3 separate regions of the Homo sapiens genome follow, and regions 1 and 2 are each linked to region 3. The links are contacts of gene promoters, found by promoter capture Hi-C in blood cells and fetal thymus (Javierre and others, 2016). All regions are on one chromosome and are shown on one strand. Each heading gives the region's core, a stretch centred on a gene start or on the middle of the fragment in contact. The rest is flanking DNA. Distances are from core to core; before and after follow the strand shown. Region 1 overlaps SMIM31 (small integral membrane protein 31). Region 2 has its middle 27 kb from the start of SMIM31. Region 3 holds the start of TKTL2 (transketolase like 2).

Region 1 (3,430 bases), core at 713-3,212, 1.3 Mb before region 3:
TTAGGACCAACTGAAATTATTATCTAGTAACAGATAGTAGGTAAATCATATTATTTTTGTATGATAAAAATTAACGTAACTCCTTTTATCATATATTCTATCACATTTAAGCTTATCTAAGCTTAGTTAAGTTAAATCATTTACTAGTGACTAAAGCCTGGTTACCTTGATATGTCATTATTTCTTAGATAATTTAGGAAACAGATTAAATTCAGATGGTCATTAGACTATCCCGACCCTACCATTCTGTATTCCTACTATCCTTTAGCATCACGAAGGGAATGATCTTTATAAATGTAAATCAGATCCACTCCTCTTCTACTTAACTAGCCAATGGCTTCCCTTGGAGTAAAATTCAAACTCCCAGTTCTTCCCTACTAGGCCCCCATCACCTACCCCACATCCCGTCTGATGGTAGCATGTGTGACAGTTTGCATGCTCCTGCACTGACCTTGCTTGTGTTCCTTGCCCTGCTAAGCTCATCCTGTCTTCCTCCTGCCTGAGAATCTCCTCTACATTCTCATTGTCTACTTTCTCTGTGTCTTCTCTTCAGTTCAAGCACCACCTCCCCACAGAGGCATTTCTTGACTTCTAATCTAAGCCAAGTTCTCAGCAGTTTTATTTTCATCACAGCTATTCTCCATTGCATTTTTCTTCTTTTTTTTTTTTTTGAGATGGAGTCTCACTCTGTCACCAGGCTGGAGTGCAGTGGCACGATCTCAGCTCACTACAACCTCCGCTTCCCGGGTTCAAGCGATTCTCCTGCCTCAGTCCCCCGAGTAGCTGGGACTACAGGTGTGTGCCACCACGCCTGGCTAATTTTTTGTATTTTTAGTAGAGATGGGGTTTCACCATGTTGGCCAGGATGATCTCAATTTCCTGACCTCGTGATCCGCCTGCCTCAGCCTCCCAAAGTGCTGGGATTACAGACGTGAGCCACCGTGCCTGGCTACATTTTTTTGTTATTGTTTGTCTGTCTTTCCCCATTAAAGTTCTATGAAAGCAGTCTGCTTTGTTTATCTCCGTACCTATAGGGCTTAGAAAAATGACGGGCATATAGTACATTTTCCCATAAGTATTCACTGAGTGACCATAAACGAGTGGATGCAAGCAGCACCGAAGAAGGCAAGTTGATGCAAAACTCTGAATTTCACAGCTGTGAATGGAAACTCTGGATTGAAGATGTATTTGGAAATCTCAGCGGCATCAAGCACTCTATTACTTGAGAAAATCCCACCCAGAGGACAAGAAGTATATTTTGAAAATGGCTTTAAGGTTTCCATAAAACAGGCAGCATGGTTGGGATTGATGGTTTTTCTTGCTGCTGTTATTGCCCTCACGGGGGAGATGTGTTTCTTTTCCTTTGTTACTTTATTTTTCTGTCTCATGGCTGCTGACAGAGCTCACTGCTCTCTTTGTGCACCATCCGTTCATTCTCTCGCGGCTCCCTTGAGTGCTGTTATGATTGCTCGGGGACAGCATGGAACATGCTCTTCTTATTGAGTCTCCTTCCTATTGTAGATGCTGTGTGCATGCATCAAGGGCCAAGGGGACTAGGTAAAATGACTGCCTTCATCTAAAGAAAAATCTGCCAGAGTAAAAATAAAGGGCTTATTTACAGGAAGTAAATGCACTTTTCTGGGCAGTGGGAATTTAGTGTTTTGAATTCTTATAGCCTGCTACATTAGAAAACTATGGGCTGAAAAAAATCTGTGAGATACTGCAGTGCCCACTCCCCCCTTGCCTTCAAAGGCCTTGTGGAAAAAGTCTAAAGGCTACTAACCAACGTGCATGCCACTTCTGTTGCTTCCTGGATTTATCTGCCTTTTTTTTTTTTTTTTTTCTGAGACAAAGTATCCCTTCCTTCTTTAAAAATTCTGAACAAGACTCACCTGCTGCATTGAATGCTTATCTAATTTAAATAATCTGAAACCAGTGGCACTTTTTTCCGTTTTATCTGTAGGAGGGTGGTTCTGTCATGGTGTAAATCCTGTCTACTAAACAAAGCCTTGAATTATCCCGTCCATCTGTGAAATGCCAACAACGCTCATTAGTCTCTGCATATGGTTTCTGAATTATGTATTCACCTTGAAGGCTCATACAGGCAGAAAACTGTTTTTCTTATTTACTCCCTGACACCAAGTACTTGGCAAATCACGCTTGCTGAATGACAAATGATGTGTCCCAGCTCCTGTCAATGCTGTTCCTACTTGACATTTCAACCTGCTACATGTCTCTTTGATTTTCTCAATCTTTCTTTTTGGATGGATCCTCTATCATGTTGCCTTCCTCTGTTTCTTTGGGCAACTCCATGTCTCAAGTCTTCTTCTGGTCAAACTCTGAACAAAAAGCCATCTTGTCCTTGAGAACTTTCCTCCAAATAAAATTTCAGGTTTGGAAAGAAAATCAAAAATCACCTTGTCCAGACACCATACAATGATTGAATTTTCCCTAAACTGTTTTGGTGAAATAGATGGCCAGCCTGAATTCCTCTAGTGATGAGGAACTCACTGTCATTGGAGGCAATCTGTTTAATCTCTGGATAACCCTGCTCTTTAGAAAACTCTATATCAGCTAAAATTCTGTTCTTTTTAACTATTACCATGTGATTCCTAAATACAGAACTAAAAAGTTCTCCTTTTATGAGAGGGATCCTCAAATATTTGAAGACCAGGAATTTGTCATGTTGCCTGGGCTTTCTTTCCTTTGTCTAGACAAATATTCTTCTTATGACATAATTCTGTGTCCTTTGTCCCTTTTGATTTCTCTCCTTTACTTCCAAATCCCTCTAAAGTGGAGTAACCAAGCTGAAGGCAATATTTTGAATTAGGTTGACTGGATTCCAGTAAGGCAACAACAGCACCCACCACATTTTTTTCTATTTTTTTCTTTTTTTTTTTTTGAGATGGAGTCTCGCTCTGTCGCCAGGCTGTAGTGCAGTGGCGCGATCTTGGCTCACTGCAACCTCCGCCTCCCAGGTTCGAGCAATTCTCCTGCCTCAGCCTCCCGAGTAGCTGGGACTACAGGCACACGCCACCACGCTCAGCTAATTTTTGTATTTTTAGTAGAGACAGGATTTCACCATGTTGGCCAGGATGGTCTTGATCTCTTGACCTCATGATCTGCCCGCCTCGGCCTCCCAAAGTGCTGAGGTTACAGGTGTGAGCTACTGTGCCCTGCCACACCCACCACATTTTAACTCAATGGTCTGCCAATGGTCTGGTTGCCGGTCAGGCCTCATTTAAAAAAACATATAGGGCAATCCATGCCTCCAATGATAGTGAGTTCCTCATCACTAGAGGAATTCAGGCTGGACAGCTATTTGACCAAAACAGCTTAGGGAAAATTCAACAATTGTTAGTTTTCAATTTATTTAATATCACTTTCTGAGTTTCTAAAGGATGATTTAAAAATTACAGTTATTAATTTT
Region 2 (3,557 bases), core at 351-2,850, 1.3 Mb before region 3:
ACAGGATTTCACCATGTTGATCAGGCTGGTCTCGAACTCCTGACCTCAGATGATCCACCTGCCTTGGCTTTCAAAGTGCTTGTATTATAGGCATGAGCCACCGTGCCCAGCCTAACGTGAGATTTTTAAGCAATTTGTTTGCTATGCCTAGTATTGGAAAGACAGAGACAGGTGCTGGGAGGATCAGGATGATCATGAGCATTTAAAGTAGAGAGAGAGATAGACAGGGAAAAGGGATGCAAAGTGTTAAAAGGTATGGAGAAAGGAGGAAAGGTGATTAGATGCATTGGAGGAGAATGAAGCCTGTGAATTCAGCCTGGTCCCTAAAAGATCTATAGGATTTCAACAGATGATAAAGAAGACAAAGAGAATGTAGTCGGATGGGATATTCAGAGCAAAAGTTGAAAGATGTGAAGGTACATTCTGCATTCAGGAGATAGTGTCCCCTGGAGAGGCTCCCACAAGGCATAGTGAGGGCAGTGGGAGGAGTGAGGCAATGGGGGAATCTAGGCTCTAGGCTCGGGAGGGCTGAGATCATGTTACTCAGAGGCTTTAGAAGGAGGCCTTAACAAGGAGCGAGAACAGTAGGCACAAGTTTGGGGTTCCTGAGTAGAAAACGTCAAGCGGTTCAAAGCAGCTTTTTCATGTCTGTAAGACCAAAGCCTCCAACACCTTGCCTGGAACTGTGGTTCTTAGATGTGCAGTTTTTCTTTCTGAGCTACAGCACTGCGCCAAGTGTGAATCCAGGTAGAAAAACAGAAATACCACTCTGCTGTCTTGAATTACAGGACAATTTTCACACATGCTCTATGGGGAGTATCCCATTGGTCAGACTGGCTGAAGGACTAAGCAGAGAAAGAAGGGAAAAAAAGTTAATTTGTTGTTAGAGGATTCTAGAAGCATAGGCTTTGGCAGGTTTTAAAAGGAAAATTTACAGCTTTAATAAAACTGATAAAGCCATCCTAACTTTTATGTGGTGAATATGATTTGATATTCACTGAAGATAAATTAGACATGGTGAGTTTCCCCAGGGCTCCTGCTGGAGACTAAAATGGTATTGTCTGAAATGAACTCAAAGAATCATCTTTGGAGTTAGATGCGGGCAAATTTGAAGAGATAAGGACCAGGCTAAGAGTTCAAGCATGACGTGAACAAATATGAAATAGAATTTAAGTCAAACGGTGTTCAGTGTTTTTTAGGTATCATTGTGCATACAAAAATCCAGAGGAAAGCAGGAGCAGGCTCAGAGGGGCCTTAGCTGGCTTACTTCCAGAATCACAGGCTCCATTGAGTCCCATGATGTCTGACCCCTATTCTTATTGGGCCATACGTTCGTTTAGTTAAAACAGGATATAGAACCATGTGCAATTGCATCTTATTTATCTCTCCAGATCCAGCAAGAAGATAATTTGCACATAATGACAGATTGGCTCAGGTATCTAGCCCCAAATAGAGGGTCTGGTTGTGATCCATCATCATGACATTTCAGCTTTAACAAATATGGCTGCTCACAGAGGACACAATACATGAGTGAAAGTGGAGGGACAGAATTTTTTGGAGCCATCCATCAATAAGAAAAAGGATGGAGGGTTTTTATGGAATACGACCTTCATCAGTTAGCAGTGGCATGAGTTTTACCTCAAACCCTATTAAAATCCTTTTTTAAAAAACAATTAAGCTATTTTATTGAATATATCATAGTTGTCATAAAGTTCATACATTTCACTTTTTGATACCCTAATGTATTTCCATGAACCTTTAAGTCTACAATTTTATAGATATAGTTTTCCATCCAATAAGCCAGAGGTAGATAATTTTTTTTACATGTAACTAATTAAAGGCTTTACAAGAGGTTAGGCTGTAAAAAGTTACAGTTTTGCCATAACACCACCGAAAGACACTTAATTAGGAAAGAGTTTTTTTCTACATTATTTCTTAGTCTTATAAAATGGTAAATTTTAACCAAATTGATACCTTTGTACTCTTATTTGTTTCCTATACTCTTAAATCATACTGCTTGGCAAGCGATATAAGTATTGATATAATTTTTAAATTCAATTAGTTGTAAACAAACTCTGATTTGTTAATAAGTGCATGTATTTCCCTTTAACCACCTACTATACTACCTCAGAATTAATCCTCCTATAAAAACCCTCCCACATAGAAAAAATAATGCAGAGCTTCATCTCTTCCTCAGAGATTTTCATATATTATAGGAATACAAATCCATAAAAAAGGATTAAAAATTGACATTTCATCTTGCCTTACTAATTATGAGATAATAGAGATGTGACAAAAACAAATGTTCCTTAATGTTTTTCTGCCTAACATAATATTATACTAAGAAATACTGCAATTATGTTGGTGAGCTATTTTCCAGCTTCTCCAAGTATAGGACACAACTATGGTTCTATCAGCGAGGAGAAATGAATAATCTATCTTACATAACTCAAAAGAACGATGGGAGGCACAAAAAGGTGAACTGACTTTGGCTTTTAAGAACCTGATGTTGATCCTGAAATGCCAGATTCAACAACACAACAAAACAAAAGATTACAGCAGCAAGATACCACTTTGCCACACATTATTAAGAATTCTGAAATAAGCAATAGCTCAGTCACTCAATCTGTTGTATCTTCTGTTTGTTTTTCTTGCCTTTTGGTTGCAGGCAATTCAAGGTGTGCCTATTGCATAGGACCAGCTATTCTTACTGTGCTCTCTGTCTGCATTGCAGTCATAGCTACCTAACTTCACTTTTCAACAATCACAATCCATAATTTTGCATTTTGATGAAATTTCTTCTCTTCTTCAAATACAATGCGTTGGTTTTGTTGTTGATGTTGTTGTTGAGACAGAGTCTTGCTCTGTTGCCCAGGCTGGAGTACAGTGGTGCAACCTCGGTTACTGCAACCTCTGCTTCCCAGGTTCAAGTGATTCTCATGCCTCAGACTCCCAATCAGCTGGGATTACAGGCATGTACCACTACACCTGGCTAACTTTTGTATTTTAGTAGAGACGGGTTTCGTCATGTCGGCCAGGCTGGACTTGAACTCCTAGGCTCAAGTGATCCACTGGCCTTGGCCTCCCAAAGTGCTGGGATCATAGGCATGAGCCACCATGCAATGAGCCACATTCAAATGCAGTGTACGCATTTAATAATGTACTATTTGCTTCTACTCAACTAAGTTCTGGAAGTGAGTTTTTAGCATCTATGGAAATTGTGACCTCTTGCCTGATGCCAGGCATGTCTACATGGAATAACTTTGTTCCCAGCATTTTTTTTCCATGGTCTACGTGTGTTTCCTTTTTGCACAGCCCTCTTGGGCTAAGAACATACTAAAATCAGAAGTTTCTTTTATTTTCAATAGTTTCAGAGTTTCATCTCCTCCTGGAAAAGAGGTGCTCCAGAATGATAGACACAGGCTTTCTCTAGATTCTATGCACCCTGAGGTGTCTTTGAACACCCTCCATTTTCACATGAGGTCCCAATCTTGATTTCTTCACTGTCTCTTTCTTATCTTATTCATTCCCTTACGACAGTTTATCAAATGCTTGTT
Region 3 (3,143 bases), core at 19-2,518:
GTGGCACAATCTGGGCTCACTGCAAGCTCCACCTCCCAGGTTCACGCCATTCTCCTGCCTCAGCCTCCCGAGTAGCTGGGACTACAGGTGCCCATCACCACGCCCAGCTAATTTTTTTGTATTTTTAGTAGACACGGGGTTTCACCGTGTTAGCCAGGATGGTCTCGAACTCCTGACCTTGTGATCCGCCTGCCTCGGCCTCCCAAAGTGCTGGGATTACAGGTGTGAGCCACAGCACCCGGCCCACAAATTTAGTTTTTTAAAGTAAGTAACTTTGTCTTAAAAATGATTTGTAGTAATAGTCATTAAAAGATAAACTGAGGCACATTAAAATATTAAAGCATTTATTTGACCATTCAGTGATTCATGAATCTGGTAGCTCCTGATAAAGGAGCCAAGGAGAAGGCTTTTATAGGGTGAATTTGGAAGCAAAGGAAAGATATTTGATTGGTTAAAGTGGAGTACTAGACTTATTTGGGTCATCCCAGTGGAAAGTCCCCAGTTAGAAGTTAGCTGGCAGTTTCTGATTGATTAAGCTTAAATTTCCTTTTTATCATTTACACTGATTTGGGTTTCCTTTCCTTAGGTAGGAACTCATGGAGCTGAAGCTACCTCAGCCTACTGGCCTTCTAATTATTTCAACACAGAAATAGTACTTTACGGCACACTGGAGTTGCAATTCTATTCTGCAATTGGGTGGTTTCAGATTTGTTCTTCCTATAAATTTTGGTCAAATTAGTCATTGCATTTCTTTCTATAAGTCTGAGATTCAGATATTTGGTTGCTCTGAGAAAGTCTCTGTTGAGATAGCATTGCCATACTGGTCAGATTGAAAGTGACTTTGTATCCTTTCTATTAATGTTCTGATATGAAAGAGTGATGACTCGGATATAGTGTTAATGCATTAAAAAAGCACAGCCTGACAAATCGCTTCCTATAATACACAGAAAAATGTCTAGTCTTGAATTTATAACACAGGGAAAGGTAAAAAATTTAATTATGCTTCCTAATGTTGAACATGCACGTGACAAAGTAAATACTAAAAATCCATTCAGCTGGGCGTGGACAGGGAGAGGGAACGGTGCACATCAGAGGGTGCAGGCTACTCCAACGTTTCCGTTTCCTCAGTCTCGCGGGAAGCTCCGTTGTGGGCGCCCCGGCTGGTGGCTGAGCTCAGGCCTTCAGGCAGAGGGGAGGCGAGGGCGGGGCGGTCACGTGAGAGCACTGCCGCGGTGGGTTGTGGGGGTGCTGCGGCGCCGTTTGCTTTGCCAAACCGACAAAAGAGAGATGATGGCCAACGACGCCAAGCCCGACGTGAAGACCGTGCAGGTGCTGCGGGACACAGCCAACCGCCTGCGGATCCATTCCATCAGGGCCACGTGTGCCTCTGGTTCTGGCCAGCTCACGTCGTGCTGCAGTGCAGCGGAGGTCGTGTCTGTCCTCTTCTTCCACACGATGAAGTATAAACAGACAGACCCAGAACACCCGGACAACGACCGGTTCATCCTCTCCAGGGGACATGCTGCTCCTATCCTCTATGCTGCTTGGGTGGAGGTGGGTGACATCAGTGAATCTGACTTGCTGAACCTGAGGAAACTTCACAGCGACTTGGAGAGACACCCTACCCCCCGATTGCCGTTTGTTGACGTGGCAACAGGGTCCCTAGGTCAGGGATTAGGTACTGCATGTGGAATGGCTTATACTGGCAAGTACCTTGACAAGGCCAGCTACCGGGTGTTCTGCCTTATGGGAGATGGCGAATCCTCAGAAGGCTCTGTGTGGGAGGCTTTTGCTTTTGCCTCCCACTACAACTTGGACAATCTCGTGGCGGTCTTCGACGTGAACCGCTTGGGACAAAGTGGCCCTGCACCCCTTGAGCATGGCGCAGACATCTACCAGAATTGCTGTGAAGCCTTTGGATGGAATACTTACTTAGTGGATGGCCATGATGTGGAGGCCTTGTGCCAAGCATTTTGGCAAGCAAGTCAAGTGAAGAACAAGCCTACTGCTATAGTTGCCAAGACCTTCAAAGGTCGGGGTATTCCAAATATTGAGGATGCAGAAAATTGGCATGGAAAGCCAGTGCCAAAAGAAAGAGCAGATGCAATTGTCAAATTAATTGAGAGTCAGATACAGACCAATGAGAATCTCATACCAAAATCGCCTGTGGAAGACTCACCTCAAATAAGCATCACAGATATAAAAATGACCTCCCCACCTGCTTACAAAGTTGGTGACAAGATAGCTACTCAGAAAACATATGGTTTGGCTCTGGCTAAACTGGGCCGTGCAAATGAAAGAGTTATTGTTCTGAGTGGTGACACGATGAACTCCACCTTTTCTGAGATATTCAGGAAAGAACACCCTGAGCGTTTCATAGAGTGTATTATTGCTGAACAAAACATGGTAAGTGTGGCACTAGGCTGTGCTACACGTGGTCGAACCATTGCTTTTGCTGGTGCTTTTGCTGCCTTTTTTACTAGAGCATTCGATCAGCTCCGAATGGGAGCCATTTCTCAAGCCAATATCAACCTTATTGGTTCCCACTGTGGGGTATCCACTGGAGAAGATGGAGTCTCCCAGATGGCCCTGGAGGATCTAGCCATGTTCCGAAGCATTCCCAATTGTACTGTTTTCTATCCAAGTGATGCCATCTCGACAGAGCATGCTATTTATCTAGCCGCCAATACCAAGGGAATGTGCTTCATTCGAACCAGCCAACCAGAAACTGCAGTTATTTATACCCCACAAGAAAATTTTGAGATTGGCCAGGCCAAGGTGGTCCGCCACGGTGTCAATGATAAAGTCACAGTAATTGGAGCTGGAGTTACTCTCCATGAAGCCTTAGAAGCTGCTGACCATCTTTCTCAACAAGGTATTTCTGTCCGTGTCATCGACCCATTTACCATTAAACCCCTGGATGCCGCCACCATCATCTCCAGTGCAAAAGCCACAGGCGGCCGAGTTATCACAGTGGAGGATCACTACAGGGAAGGTGGCATTGGAGAAGCTGTTTGTGCAGCTGTCTCCAGGGAGCCTGATATCCTTGTTCATCAACTGGCAGTGTCAGGAGTGCCTCAACGTGGGAAAACTAGTGAATTGCTGGATATGTTTGGAATCAGTACCAGACACATTATAGCAGC

What was found. Contacts are between HindIII fragments. The CHiCAGO score rates a contact against its expected background, and 5 or more counts as called.
Region 1: a fragment that was not itself captured here is called in contact with the fragment with the promoter of TKTL2 in region 3 in 6 of 17 cell types (endothelial precursors, total CD8 T cells, naive B cells and 3 more); the score reaches 10.5 in endothelial precursors.
Region 2: a fragment that was not itself captured here is called in contact with the fragment with the promoter of TKTL2 in region 3 in 9 of 17 cell types (endothelial precursors, naive CD4 T cells, naive CD8 T cells and 6 more); the score reaches 10.6 in endothelial precursors.

What each region holds. Positions count from the first base shown.
Region 1 is chr4:164,764,038-164,767,467 of GRCh38, reverse strand. The region is part of intron 1 of SMIM31 (small integral membrane protein 31); the gene reads right to left. Among named protein-coding and RNA genes, the nearest start is that of SMIM31, 12 kb to the right of the region's middle. The HindIII fragment of the contact is 3,677 bases long and covers 124-3,430 here.
Region 2 is chr4:164,725,771-164,729,327 of GRCh38, reverse strand. It overlaps the pseudogene CHORDC1P3. Among named protein-coding and RNA genes, the nearest start is that of SMIM31, 27 kb to the left of the region's middle. RefSeq lists an enhancer at 1,524-1,693. The HindIII fragment of the contact is 5,791 bases long and covers 1-3,557 here.
Region 3 is chr4:163,471,879-163,475,021 of GRCh38, reverse strand. It overlaps TKTL2 (transketolase like 2), which reads left to right and starts at 1,268. Exons shown (of 1, transcript NM_032136.5): 1 at 1,268-3,143. The coding sequence starts at 1,288. The HindIII fragment of the contact is 3,282 bases long and covers 539-3,143 here.